Linked DNA regions of Homo sapiens: regions 2 and 3 are each linked to region 1. The links are contacts of gene promoters, found by promoter capture Hi-C in blood cells and fetal thymus (Javierre and others, 2016). All regions are on one chromosome and are shown on one strand. Each heading gives the region's core, a stretch centred on a gene start or on the middle of the fragment in contact. The rest is flanking DNA. Distances are from core to core; before and after follow the strand shown.

Evidence for each region. Contacts are between HindIII fragments. The CHiCAGO score rates a contact against its expected background, and 5 or more counts as called.
Region 2: the fragment with the promoter of DHH here is called in contact with the fragment with the promoter of DNAJC22 in region 1 in 5 of 17 cell types (neutrophils, erythroblasts, M0 macrophages and 2 more); the score reaches 8.4 in neutrophils.
Region 3: a fragment that was not itself captured here is called in contact with the fragment with the promoter of DNAJC22 in region 1 in 1 of 17 cell types (megakaryocytes); the score reaches 5.5 in megakaryocytes.

The regions. Positions count from the first base shown.
Region 1 is chr12:49,344,983-49,348,737 of GRCh38, reverse strand. It overlaps DNAJC22 (DnaJ heat shock protein family (Hsp40) member C22), which reads right to left and starts at 1,850. Exons shown (of 4, transcript NM_001304944.2): 1 at 1,187-1,850; 2 at 633-1,094. RefSeq lists silencers at 814-1,033, 3,066-3,185, 3,206-3,305, 3,336-3,525 and an enhancer at 208-1,151. The HindIII fragment of the contact is 2,270 bases long and covers 1-1,976 here.
Region 2 is chr12:49,092,994-49,096,748 of GRCh38, reverse strand. DHH (desert hedgehog signaling molecule) reads left to right here and starts at 1,948. Exons shown (of 3, transcript NM_021044.4): 1 at 1,948-2,539. The coding sequence starts at 2,237. DHH-AS1 (DHH antisense RNA 1) reads right to left here. Exons shown (of 4, transcript XR_007063295.1): 3 at 2,561-2,627; 4 at 1,005-1,348. The HindIII fragment of the contact is 10,631 bases long and covers 1,724-3,755 here.
Region 3 is chr12:49,495,555-49,499,309 of GRCh38, reverse strand. SPATS2 (spermatogenesis associated serine rich 2) reads right to left here. Exons shown (of 14, transcript NM_023071.4): 8 at 2,301-2,477. Among named protein-coding and RNA genes, the nearest start is that of KCNH3, 42 kb to the left of the region's middle. The HindIII fragment of the contact is 1,768 bases long and covers 1,125-2,892 here.

The DNA.
Region 1 (3,755 bases), core at 601-3,100:
AGATGATGTCCAGGCTCCAACACAGCAACCATTTCTCTTTCCAATAAAAGTTGAGTACAGATCTGCCTGAGTCCCCAGTGCTATTTATCTCATATCCCTTGTCCTAGCACCTCAGTCCCATTCTTTACAACCACAGTGACTCCAGATTTAGAGGAGAAAGCTGTTTAAATTTCAGACTTCCCCTGAGACCCATGACCCCAAATGACTCATGGGGGGATGTGTGGAGGGGCAGGGCTGCATTGGATGCTTTTCCAAAGTTCCCACACATTTTGAAAGCCTCTGCCTTACCCCTGACTTAACTCCAACTGTGGCTGCCCTCCCACACCTGGCCCAGGCTTTAGCCACTCTCCTGCCTTCCTAACTCTCCAGGCCATGAGATTTTCCCACAGGTCAAACTTGAAAGGGGTCCTGAATTCCCTTTATTAAAATATTCTGGAAAACTTCGTTTGACCTAGACCTTGGCACCCCACAATTCAACCACCTCTTTCGGAGGCCGGCTTGGAAAGCCACTCCACAGCAGCTGGACAAATCCTCACAATATCAAACTGGACGCCAAGCGTGCCTGCCAGTGTCCCCTCTATCTGGAGCGACCACCAGCCAGCACCCGCTACTTCCAAATCAAGTGGCCATACCTGGGTGCCCCGCTCCCAGACCGAGTCAGACCAGTCATTTCCTTTGACCACAGAGTGAAAATGGCCCGTCTCGCCCTGCTCCCACTTCCATCCAAATGGACTTTGTCTTTTGTGTCTGTTGTGTCACGGAAGTCCGGCTTCCCCAGGCCAGGCTCCTCCCCAGGGCCCTCCCCGGCCCCCTGGGGATCACATTCCCGCCTGGGACTCCTCCCGCCCGCCCTCGCGGGGAAACTCGGTGCAAGGCTCTGCAGACGCCTGCAGCTCCGGTGGGCTCAGTGCCCAGCCCGGGCCCAGCTCCTCCCACACCACCGCACCATGGCCGCCAGGTGGCGCTGCCGCCGATGGAAGGGGGGGTCCGGGCGGTCCCCAGACACCTTGTGCGGGTACCGAGGCACAGCAGCACAGGACTGCCCCTATGGAGGGGCTGCCTGGCAGGAGCAAGGGACGCTCCTATCTGTAGTGCTAAAAAAAAGGATAAACTCCTGTAAATGCAAGAATACGTCCTTGATTACCTCCTCCCACCCCCACAAATTGAAAGGTGACTCCTCCCTCACCTCAAGCTGCACGCTCCTCTCTTCACGCTCCGTTGACCTTCAAGACTGGATGGTTCCACCTCCAATTCCCTTAAGGCAGAGACATCCACGGACAGGCTGCAGTGAGGGACATCCAACCCAAGCTGTCCTCAACCCCCCACAGGGCTTGCTTGCCTCACCGGCCCACCTCCGAGCCTTCCAGTTAGGGGCTCTGCTTCTGCACCTGAGCCTGAGACCTGAGGAGCCTCCCAATCCAGGGCTGCTCTGTCCCGCGGGCTATGAACCAGAGGGAGAAACGGGAGCAGAGGGTTGGAGGGCAGGAGGCTCGACCAGGAGGGCGAGGCCGCAGCCCGAGGCTCGTGGTAGTCTGCCTTCCTGCGCCTCTGCGCTGCAACGGAGCTGCAATGCAAGACGCCTTCATTTCAATGTCCCGGGCTCCAATCCCGGGTTCTACTCCGTGAACTTGGCTAAGTCATGCAGCTTCTTGGGCCTCAATTTCCTTCTCTGGCAATCTCGTGGATCTCCGAGGTCCCCCAGTCTGGACTTGCGGGGGCTTCGGGGGACGGTCGGCCTCGCGGGTGTCACCTCCCGGCAGTAGGCAGAGCGCTTCCCTCCAAACGCCCTCAGCCCTCATCTCGGCCTGGAGAGGAAATGCTGCTCTCTATATGACCTCTTAGGGCTCACTGAGGGGCCTAGGCTGGGAGGGGCCCCAAAGCGACGCCTCAGACTGCTGGGGGGCGGGGGCGGACAGGAGCGCTGAATAATGAATGAGACTTAATTGGGCCCGCACTGCGCGACGGCGCGCTAAGCTTTGCAAACAGCGTGGGCGGCGGCGGCCGCCGCTGGACAAACAAACTATCTCCCGGCTCAGGTGGTGGGGCGGGGGCGGCAGCCATACAAGGGAGAGGGAAGGGGCTGGCCGCCGGGGCACCCGGGGCCGCAGCGCGCCCCCAGGTTTACTTCCCGAGGAACCCAGAAATGCGGGGCTGCGCTGGCGGCCCAGAGAGTGGGGGTCGGGAAGGGGCTCAGGGTTCGATCTCAGGAAGGGAGGAGTGGGGAGGGAGAGAAGCGGATTGTGCGGGGAGAGCCAGGGGCCCAAGGGCAATGTAAGCGCGAGGAAAAGCTGAAGAAACGAGTGGAGGGCAGAGGAGAGGGGAGAAGTGAGCGAGGAAAAAGCGCACCGGGGGAGGGGCGACGGGGTCGGGGGAGCGGGAGAAGAGCTGTTACCGGGAGGAAAGGGAAGAGCGATGGAGGAACAAGCGAAGGAAGGCGCAAGGGGCCGGGAGAAGAGGAATTGAAGAGTCAAGGAGAGGGATGGGAGGTGACCGGAATAAGAACGAGGGGGCGGCAGGGCGGGGGGAGGCGCCCCTGCCTCCGCCTCGCCCTGCAGCGCTCCCGGCCTAGCGCTCTCTCCAGCCGCCCGCACTCACTTTGTCACAATTACGGGGCCGTCACTCCGCCCGGATTGTTTTCCCCAAATTGTTGTTCTATAAACTGGTGCAGAGTGGGAGGTGGGGGGATCTGACAAACTGCAGCGAGAGGAAAGGGTCTGAGCTGTGGTGCGGGGCGCGGTGGTGCATTTACCCGCAAACTGGCCCCGCGTGGGCGGAGGAATCCAAAAAACCCACGCAGGAATTCTGGTTGCTGCCCCAGCTTCGTCGCTGACCCCGCTTTTAACTTTTTGGCTATTCTCAGCATCGGCTGCCTCGGTTTCCCCAGCAGAGCGTGACAAGGATCGGAGGCTGGGGTGGTGGAGGCGCTTGTAGGTGGGGTCCAAACCGTCCTGCCTGTCCCATTCTGTCTTGTTCTTTACTACCCGGGTCTCCCCGGCGGGGGATGGGTGGTCTATCCCAGCCCAGCGGTCCTCAGAGCGACCTCGAGTGCCTTCTTCCCCCGTGAGTGAGGCTTCTGCCCTCACCCGGTCTGGGCCATCTCCTACCCCGCCTGTGCCCTCCGACCCTCTGCCCTGCGCCGCTCGGTGTCCCAGCCTTTCAATTCGGCAAACATACGTTGCGCGCCCACTGAGTGCCAGCGCTGAGCCAGCCTCACCCCGCCGCCTCTCCCCCCCGCCACCCGCCCCTTCCCGGCCGGCCCGGCCTGTCGGCTCCGTGACAGCAGCCGCCGAAGCCCCGGCCCCGCGGGAGCGGCCAGAGAGGAGCCGCCGCATGGCTGGCTCCGACACTGGCCTCCCCGGCGGCTCCAGGGGCAACGAAGGGTGGCGGCCGCTGAAGCGAGACTGGAGCCTGCTGGGGGAGTTGGCAGGGCTGAGCGGGGGAGGGGGAGGCCCTGGGCGGGCTTCTCTCTGGTTCTCTAAGGCCTGTCGTTCTCATTCCGTCGCCCTCCGGTACCGCCCGGGTCCCGACCCCTCCTGGCTTCGCGAGCCTGGGACGTGGTAGGCTCCCCACGCCCCCTCCCCCAGCCCAGGTGATTTACACGCGGGCTCCGCGAAGCGGCCGCTTCCCAATCAGGAATATCGACCCCGGGCGGGGCCCCCGGGCCGCATCGATCCCTCTAAGGCTCGGGATTTAAAAATGTCAAATTTGCCTTTTCCAGGCGGGCGGAGGGGGCGGGGGCCAGGCGGAGGGAGGTT
Region 2 (3,755 bases), core at 699-3,198, 250 kb after region 1:
TACCTGAGAGAAGAATCTAGCTTTTTACTAGAGGCCATCAGTTTCTTGAAAAGCCCATGTGCTATGTTGGGAGTAAGAGCGCAAAACTTAGGCTTATACAGATTGTGTATTGCACAGCTTCCAGGGACACCATTCACCTCATAGTCATTGTGTGGATAGTTACTATGATAGTTTTCTAATAAATGTCAGTCATCTTGAGGAAGGGGTGCTTTTTTTTTCTTTTTTCTTCTTCTTTTTTTTTTTTTTTTTTTTGTGAGACAAGGTCTGGCTCTATCACCCTGGCTGGAGTGCAGTGGTGCAATCTCAGCTCACTGCAACCTCCGCATTCTGGGCTCAAGCCATTCTTCCAGCTCAGGCTCCAGAATAGCTAGGACAACAGACACATGCTACCATGCCTGGCTAATTTTTGTATTTTTAGTAGAGATGGGGTTTTGCCATGTTGCCTGGGCTGGTCTTGAACTCCTGAGCTCAAGTGATCCACCTACCTTGGACTCCCCAAATGATGGAATTACAGGGGTTAGCCACAACACCCAGCCATCTTTTTTTTGGGGGGGGGGGTCCTCACTCTGTCACCCAGGTTAGAGTGCAGTGGCATGATCTTAGCTCACTCTACAGCCTTGAACTCTTGCACCCAAGTGATCCTCCTTCCTCAGCCTCCTGAGTACCTAAGACTACAGGCATGTACCACTACCTCCCACTAATTAATTTTTTTTTTTTGAAACGGGGTGTCACTATGTTGACCAAGTTGGTCTTCAACTCATGGCCTCAAGCAGTCCTTGCCTCGCCCCCAAAGTGTTGGGATTACAGGAGTGAGCCACTGTGCCTGGCCTGGTTTTTTCTGATGTACACAAAGTTGCTATGAGTACTAGCCATAGAGTGTGGTGAGGGGAGGGTGAATATGAAACACAAAGTGTAGATTCCACAAATGCTTGCAAAGCACCCTTCTGTAGAGTAGGCACTTAACCTTGGAGATACATGATAAATATGTGTGTGCTTAAGATTGCTTTGTCTAGTAAGGTGCCAGATAATTCTAATACTGTTCTAACACTGCAGTTAAGTAATGGTTCTCGAGGGAACACAGGTGGGCAGTGTTGGGACATCAAGGAAGGCTTCTTAGAAGAAATGACTTCTAAACAAAAGAAATTGGACGTGGTGCCTCTGAGATGAGATCTGAGTGGCTGAAAATGGAGCCCCGGGAGTCCAGAGAGGGAGAAAGCTGGAGAGGTGCCTAGATGGACGGTTAAGGGAAGTGATCCTCACCTCTTACAAAGACTTTTGAGTGTCCACTGCCCTTCAGCAGCTTCCAACTGAGAAGTCATTCATTTGAAAAACAGCAGCTATTAGATGCCTGGCAAAGAAGAGAAGGGGAAAAAAGTTGGAAGTCCTAAATGAGACAATAAGTACCAAGCTCTGTTCCTGGTTCTGGGGAAGTTCCAAAGGAGACTGCAAAGTTAGTAGAGAAATGGGCCCCTGGTATCCTCACCTCCCAGTCCTGCTTAATGCTGAATGTGAGGAGAGATGGAAGTCGGGGAGATCTGGGGAGGACTACAGAGAAGGGAGGCTCTGGTTGTATGCCCAAAGGGCTTGGCTGGTCTTGGGCAGAAATTGGAACCCATACTTCCTGGATGACAGCGGAGGGCATGGCCTGCCAGGGTAGGCTTTGAGAGAGTAAAAATTCCAATTCAAGTATCAGAGGAGGGTGGTTTGGTTCCAAGTTTAAGCTTGGAGGTAGAAGGATGTTTAGGCAGCCAAGGACTGTAAAGCTACAAGTATTTCCTAGGCAGGTGTCTGCCTGGTTTCCAGGATGGGACACACTTCAGTCGCAAAATGGACCAGCAGTGACCGGCTAGATCCCCCGCCCGGGTGGGAGGGGGTGGGACGGTCTTGGGAGAAGGGCGGAGGGCGGGGCCAGGGGCCACTTAAGGCGGAGTCCGGAGTCCGGGCGTTCTGGCAGCACCAGAGTCCTGCAGCAGAGACGGGCTGGGCTGGCACTCACCCACGACCCCCCTTCCCTGCTATGATGGTTTGTCAGTAGCAGGTCCTAGACACCCCCCGCCCGCTCCCGGGGCACGTGGGCAGAGCTAGCAGCAGCCAGGTGCACGGAGCCACAAGAGCTCTAGGGCACTCTGGGGGCAGCTGTGCCTGCTGCCCTCTCTGGTGCCTGTGGAGATGCCTAACTGACAGGAGAGTTAGTGAGGACAAGAACGCTCCCTTTTGGCCGAGGTCCGCTGTATCCATGGCTCTCCTGACCAATCTACTGCCCCTGTGCTGCTTGGCACTTCTGGCGCTGCCAGCCCAGAGCTGCGGGCCGGGCCGGGGGCCGGTTGGCCGGCGCCGCTATGCGCGCAAGCAGCTCGTGCCGCTACTCTACAAGCAATTTGTGCCCGGCGTGCCAGAGCGGACCCTGGGCGCCAGTGGGCCAGCGGAGGGGAGGGTGGCAAGGGGCTCCGAGCGCTTCCGGGACCTCGTGCCCAACTACAACCCCGACATCATCTTCAAGGATGAGGAGAACAGTGGAGCCGACCGCCTGATGACCGAGGTAAGGAGGGCCTCTCCCTACCTGCGCCGGGGCACTGCCAGCTCCTCCGTTTTCCTATGGCAGCCCAGGTGGGTGAGTCCAGCTTCACCTACAGAGAGTTTAGCCTTAGAGATTTCCCTTGTCACCAGCCCCAGGGGGGGGAAAAATCCTTGCAGTCTGGACAGAGTAATTAGGACGGCTCCCGACTAGAATAGTCTGGGATGGGGAGGGGAGGAGGGACTGACTAGTGAGAGTGAAGCTGGTAGAGGCAGCGAGGGCGGGGAAAGGAGGATGGCGGCAGGCGAGACGGGAAATGGCTGAGGCGTGGACCGGGGGTCAGCCACCCAGCCAGGCAGGAAGGGCTGGGGTGAGCTGGGGGCCAGGAGCTGGCTAGGTAGCAGACAGAAGCCTGGCTCCTGACCTGATTGTAGAAAAGCTCTGTGGGCCGAAAAGAAGAGACTGAAAAGGGCTGGGACAGGGGTGGCCAAGGGTCAGGTCACCAGACCATCTACCTGAGGAGGGGCTGGGCAGACATTGCTTTTGGCATGGGAAACGTGTCCTAGAACCAGGACACATCTATTCTAGGGTCTATTCTAGGGCTATCCTAGGGTCTAAACGATAATCTTGGGGTTAAAAAGTAATCCTCAGTGAGAATAACAGATGGACCCACCTGAGAATCAGAGGGCTCCTAAGTCTTCCAAGCTCTGCCTATCTCAGGGGCTTTCCTTGGAATTACATAATTAGGATAAATTCAACTACCATTTTTGAGCATTGGAACCACCTAGAGTGAGGTGGAAGAGAAGGACCACCTCTGGCGAGTGATTTATTTTTTATTTTTTGTAGAGACGGGGTCTTGCCATGTTGCCTAGGCTAGTCTTGAACTCCTGAGCTCAAGGGATCCTCCCACCTCGGCCTCCCAAAGTGCTGGATTACAGGTGTGAGCCACTTCATCCAGCCTGGCCAGTGATCTTGAATGTTAGAACTGAAAGAAAACTTGAGAGATGACATTCCTCCAACCCTCCCCACCCCCACTGCCACCCTCATTTTACATCTGAGAGCTGGACTTCCCCCAGGAGGAAAAGCAATTTAAACTCTCACAATTTAAAGTGGCATGGCTGGGACTAGAATTCAGGACTCCTGATTCTAAGCCCTATATACTTTCCATTACACCACCTAATTGTGTATGGAGTGGGGAGGTGGGGGGAGAGGGAGGGGTACGGATTTCCTCTGATTAATT
Region 3 (3,755 bases), core at 759-3,258, 150 kb before region 1:
ATGGCAGGCAGAGTAGTTGGAAGGATACTGCCTCAGCAACAGGGCAAAATTATTTCTAGACTAAAGGCTGCTCTAGTCCCACCTAAAAAAGCTTAAAAGAAACAGAAAAATATGACCTATAAGTAAGAGAAAAAATCAATCACAGAGGCAGATGCGGAAATGACACAGATGATAGAATTGAGTAGAAAAGGACATCAAACAGCTATTATAATTAGATACTATAGGGCCAGGTGTGGTGGCTCACGCCTGTAATCCCAGCACTTTGGGAGGCCAAGATGGGTGGATCACCTGAGGCCAGGAGTTCAAGACCAGCCTGGCCAGCATGGTGAAACCCTGTCTCTACTAAAAATACAAAATTAGCTGGGTGTGGTGGCACGCACCTGTAATCCCAGCTACTCGGGAGGCTGAGGCAGGAGAATCACTGGGAGGCGGAGGTTTCAGTGAGCTGAAATCACACCATTGCACTCCAGCCTGGGTGACAAGAGTGAAACTCCATCTCAAAAAAAAAAAAAAAAAAAATAGATACCATATGTTCAAGAAGGTAGAGGAAAGCATAAGCGTGGTAAGAAGAGATATGGAAGATATCTTAAAAGACCCCAGTTGAACTTCTAGAGACAAATAAAACAATGCCAGAGACATATACTGCATAGAATTAACAGCAGAATAGAAACTGTTAACAAAAGATGAATACAGTTGAAGACAGCAGTTTTACAAACTATCCAAAATGAAATGAAACACACAGAGAAAAAAGACTTTAAAAAAGGTACCAAATTTTCAAAATTCCTTAAGTTACAGGATTTAATAGAATATAATTCACCATGTGGACATTACAAAATTAAAATGTTCTGTCTGTATAGTACACTTCAAAGCACTGTATATATGAGGAAGCCAGCTTTGTAGAAAAGGATGGACTGCATTTACCTACTCAACACATTTTAACCAATTTCCAAGAGTTCTATTTACCTTTCTATATTCACCAATCCCCAAATTACATATATAATTGATTGCTGGAAACATGGATCTAAAAAGTTTGTAACTATGCCAAGATATGCATTTCCAATTTTTTTATTTAAATTCTTCCTCATCTCAACTTGATTTTATTTTTTAGAATCCACCTAAAAGCTTTCAAGCCTTGTGCGCATATATATATATATATATATATATTTTTTTTTTTTTTGGCTTGATTGGATAGTCTCAAACCTGCTGATCTGCAACAGGCTGAGGGCTACCAGAACAATGAAAAAGGGGAGCTTACCTAATTAAAATTTGGCTCATGTGTAATAAATAATTCCATAAAGAGCTACTGATTACAAGTGTCCTTTATATTTCTATGTTTCATTTGTTTAGTGGAGTGGACCACCATGCTTAGATGTATGAAACTCAGATATAGGAAACACAGGGTATTATCTCTGTCTGCTGAATTACTGGCTGTTTGTTTAAATGATTATTGTAGTTTTCTTTTTTTTTTAAGCAAAGAGCTATCACCAGTCAACGCCACATACTTAAGAGAAAATGACCTTACTTTTTCTAAGCTAGAGTCTGTCAGAGGACTCTAGCTCAGTAAGAGCATGAAGTTATGAAGAGGAGTGAAAATATTTCTTTAAAATGTCAATGTTGGCTGGGCGCAGTGGCTCACGCCTGTAATTCCAGCACTTTGGGAGGCCGAGACAGGCGGATCACGAGGTCAGGAGATCGAGACCATCCTGGCTAACACGGCGAAACCCCATCTCTACTAAAAATACAAAAAAATAGCCGGGCATGGTGGCACTCGCCTGTAGTCCCAGCTACTTGGTAGGCTGAGGCAGGAGAATGGCATGAACCCGGGAGGCGGAGCTTGCAGTGAGCCAAGACTGCGCCACTGCACTCCAGCCTGGGGGACAAAGTGAGACTCAGTCTCGGGGGAAAAAAAAAAAAAAAGTCAATGTCAGAGAAGGTAGAGCTTTTACTTGTTGGGTCAACCAGAAGATAAAAATGAAAGAAATAGCACCAAAACGTTGCAATAAAGCAAATAAAGAAACAGGTTAATGTTAGCAGGTAAATCATTCTGGCAGTAGAGTTTGACTTTAATTCACAAAACGTGCCGTCGTAAGTAGATTGTACAGCATTTAAACTACTTTCAGACTCCAACTGTGTACACAAAGGTTAGGGGAAGGGCTGAGTAGTCAGTCACTGTCTGGAAAATGGAAAAATATTAACTGATGCCCTTCTGAAACCTTATTTATGGCAACAGAGATAATTTGCCCTCTTTAGCCAAAAACACAGATTTTTCATTTTCTCTCACAGGTGGGCCTCTGACTTACTTAGCTTTTTACTGGTGGCGAGGGGAACATCTTCCATCCCCATATTTGAAAACTGAGTTTCTGTGGTAGGTCTTGAGAGAGATTTGGCAGCATTCCTGGGTTGTTGAGAATTGTGAATAGAGTGCATAGTCAAAGACTTGGTCTCAAAATCAGAGACACCATTCTGCAGCATGGATCCTGTCCAAGAAAGAGGACTGTACTTTAGAGCACAATTTAGGAGTAAACCAGTCATTCTTAAGTACACAAAGAAAACAGGTAAAAATGTTTGAGGCAAAACCATGCCTCTTAAAAGACTGTAAACAAAATCAACTGAAACAATAGAACAAAGATCAGAATCAGCTGGGTATGGCTATCGGCAGCTTCGGGCTTAGTCTTAAGTGGCGTCCGGAATGAAGAGAAGAGTCTGTGGCAACACATCTTTAGATAGGGAGCTCAATCCCTGTGGCTCTGTGGCTTCTTTGTAGCTTGGTAGTTTCTATGTAAGTCTGGCACAAGGAATCAAAGAAAGTCAGTATCACCAACTTCTGCAAGCCTCCATGTTAAGAAAAAAAGAGTTTTAAACTCTCTCGAGGAAAGAAGAATTTAAAAAGCTTTAGGGGCCAGGCATAGTGGCTCACGCCAGTAATCCCAGGTATTCAGGAAGCTGAGGCAGAAGGATCACTTGAGCACAGGAGTTTAAGACCAGCTTGGGCAACAGAGAGAGACCAGGTCTCTCAAAACAAACAAACAAACAAACAAACAACAACGCTCTAGGGGATAGAAGTGTAATAAGTTAGGAAGAGTTAGGAAATGAGAGGAAAGCTAGTTCAGAAAAAAATGGAAACCACTGGCTATTGTTGGTTTGAGTCAGTGCAATGTTTTTCTCTAAGTCTTTTTTTGTGTATGTGTGTATACTAATCAATAAAAGAACACCTAAACAGCACAGCATAAATCTTATATTGGCATTACACTTCTAAAGCCAGGAGCAGCAGGGCAGGGGAACTGGATTAACAAGTAATGTTTTAAAAGAGAAATTTCCAGTATCTTACCCTCAAAAAAATGGTTAACAAAGAAAGGTACAAGATATGTGAATTTACAACTAACACTAATCTTAATTCTTCACTAGAAAACAAATGTGAGACTATAAAAACCAACAGCCTAGTTCTCACAAAAGCTGAAATTATCATTATTATATTTCTCACTATGTTGGGTCTTAAAATAATAATATCAACATCATCATCTTCCTGAATAACTCCACAATTTTTAAAAAACAACTTAAAGTCACCTTCTGTAGTCTCTAAATACTGAGGTATTTCTCTGCTATTAACCCATTTATGCCGGAGGCTGCAATTTTTTTAATTTTTGCATGAGTGGAAAAATTAGATCTTGGCGATGACCTTGAGCAGTAGGATATGAATAACTCCCACATGCTCAGCGTTCCAATAATGGAACACTAGGGTTCAAGTTAGATGATTT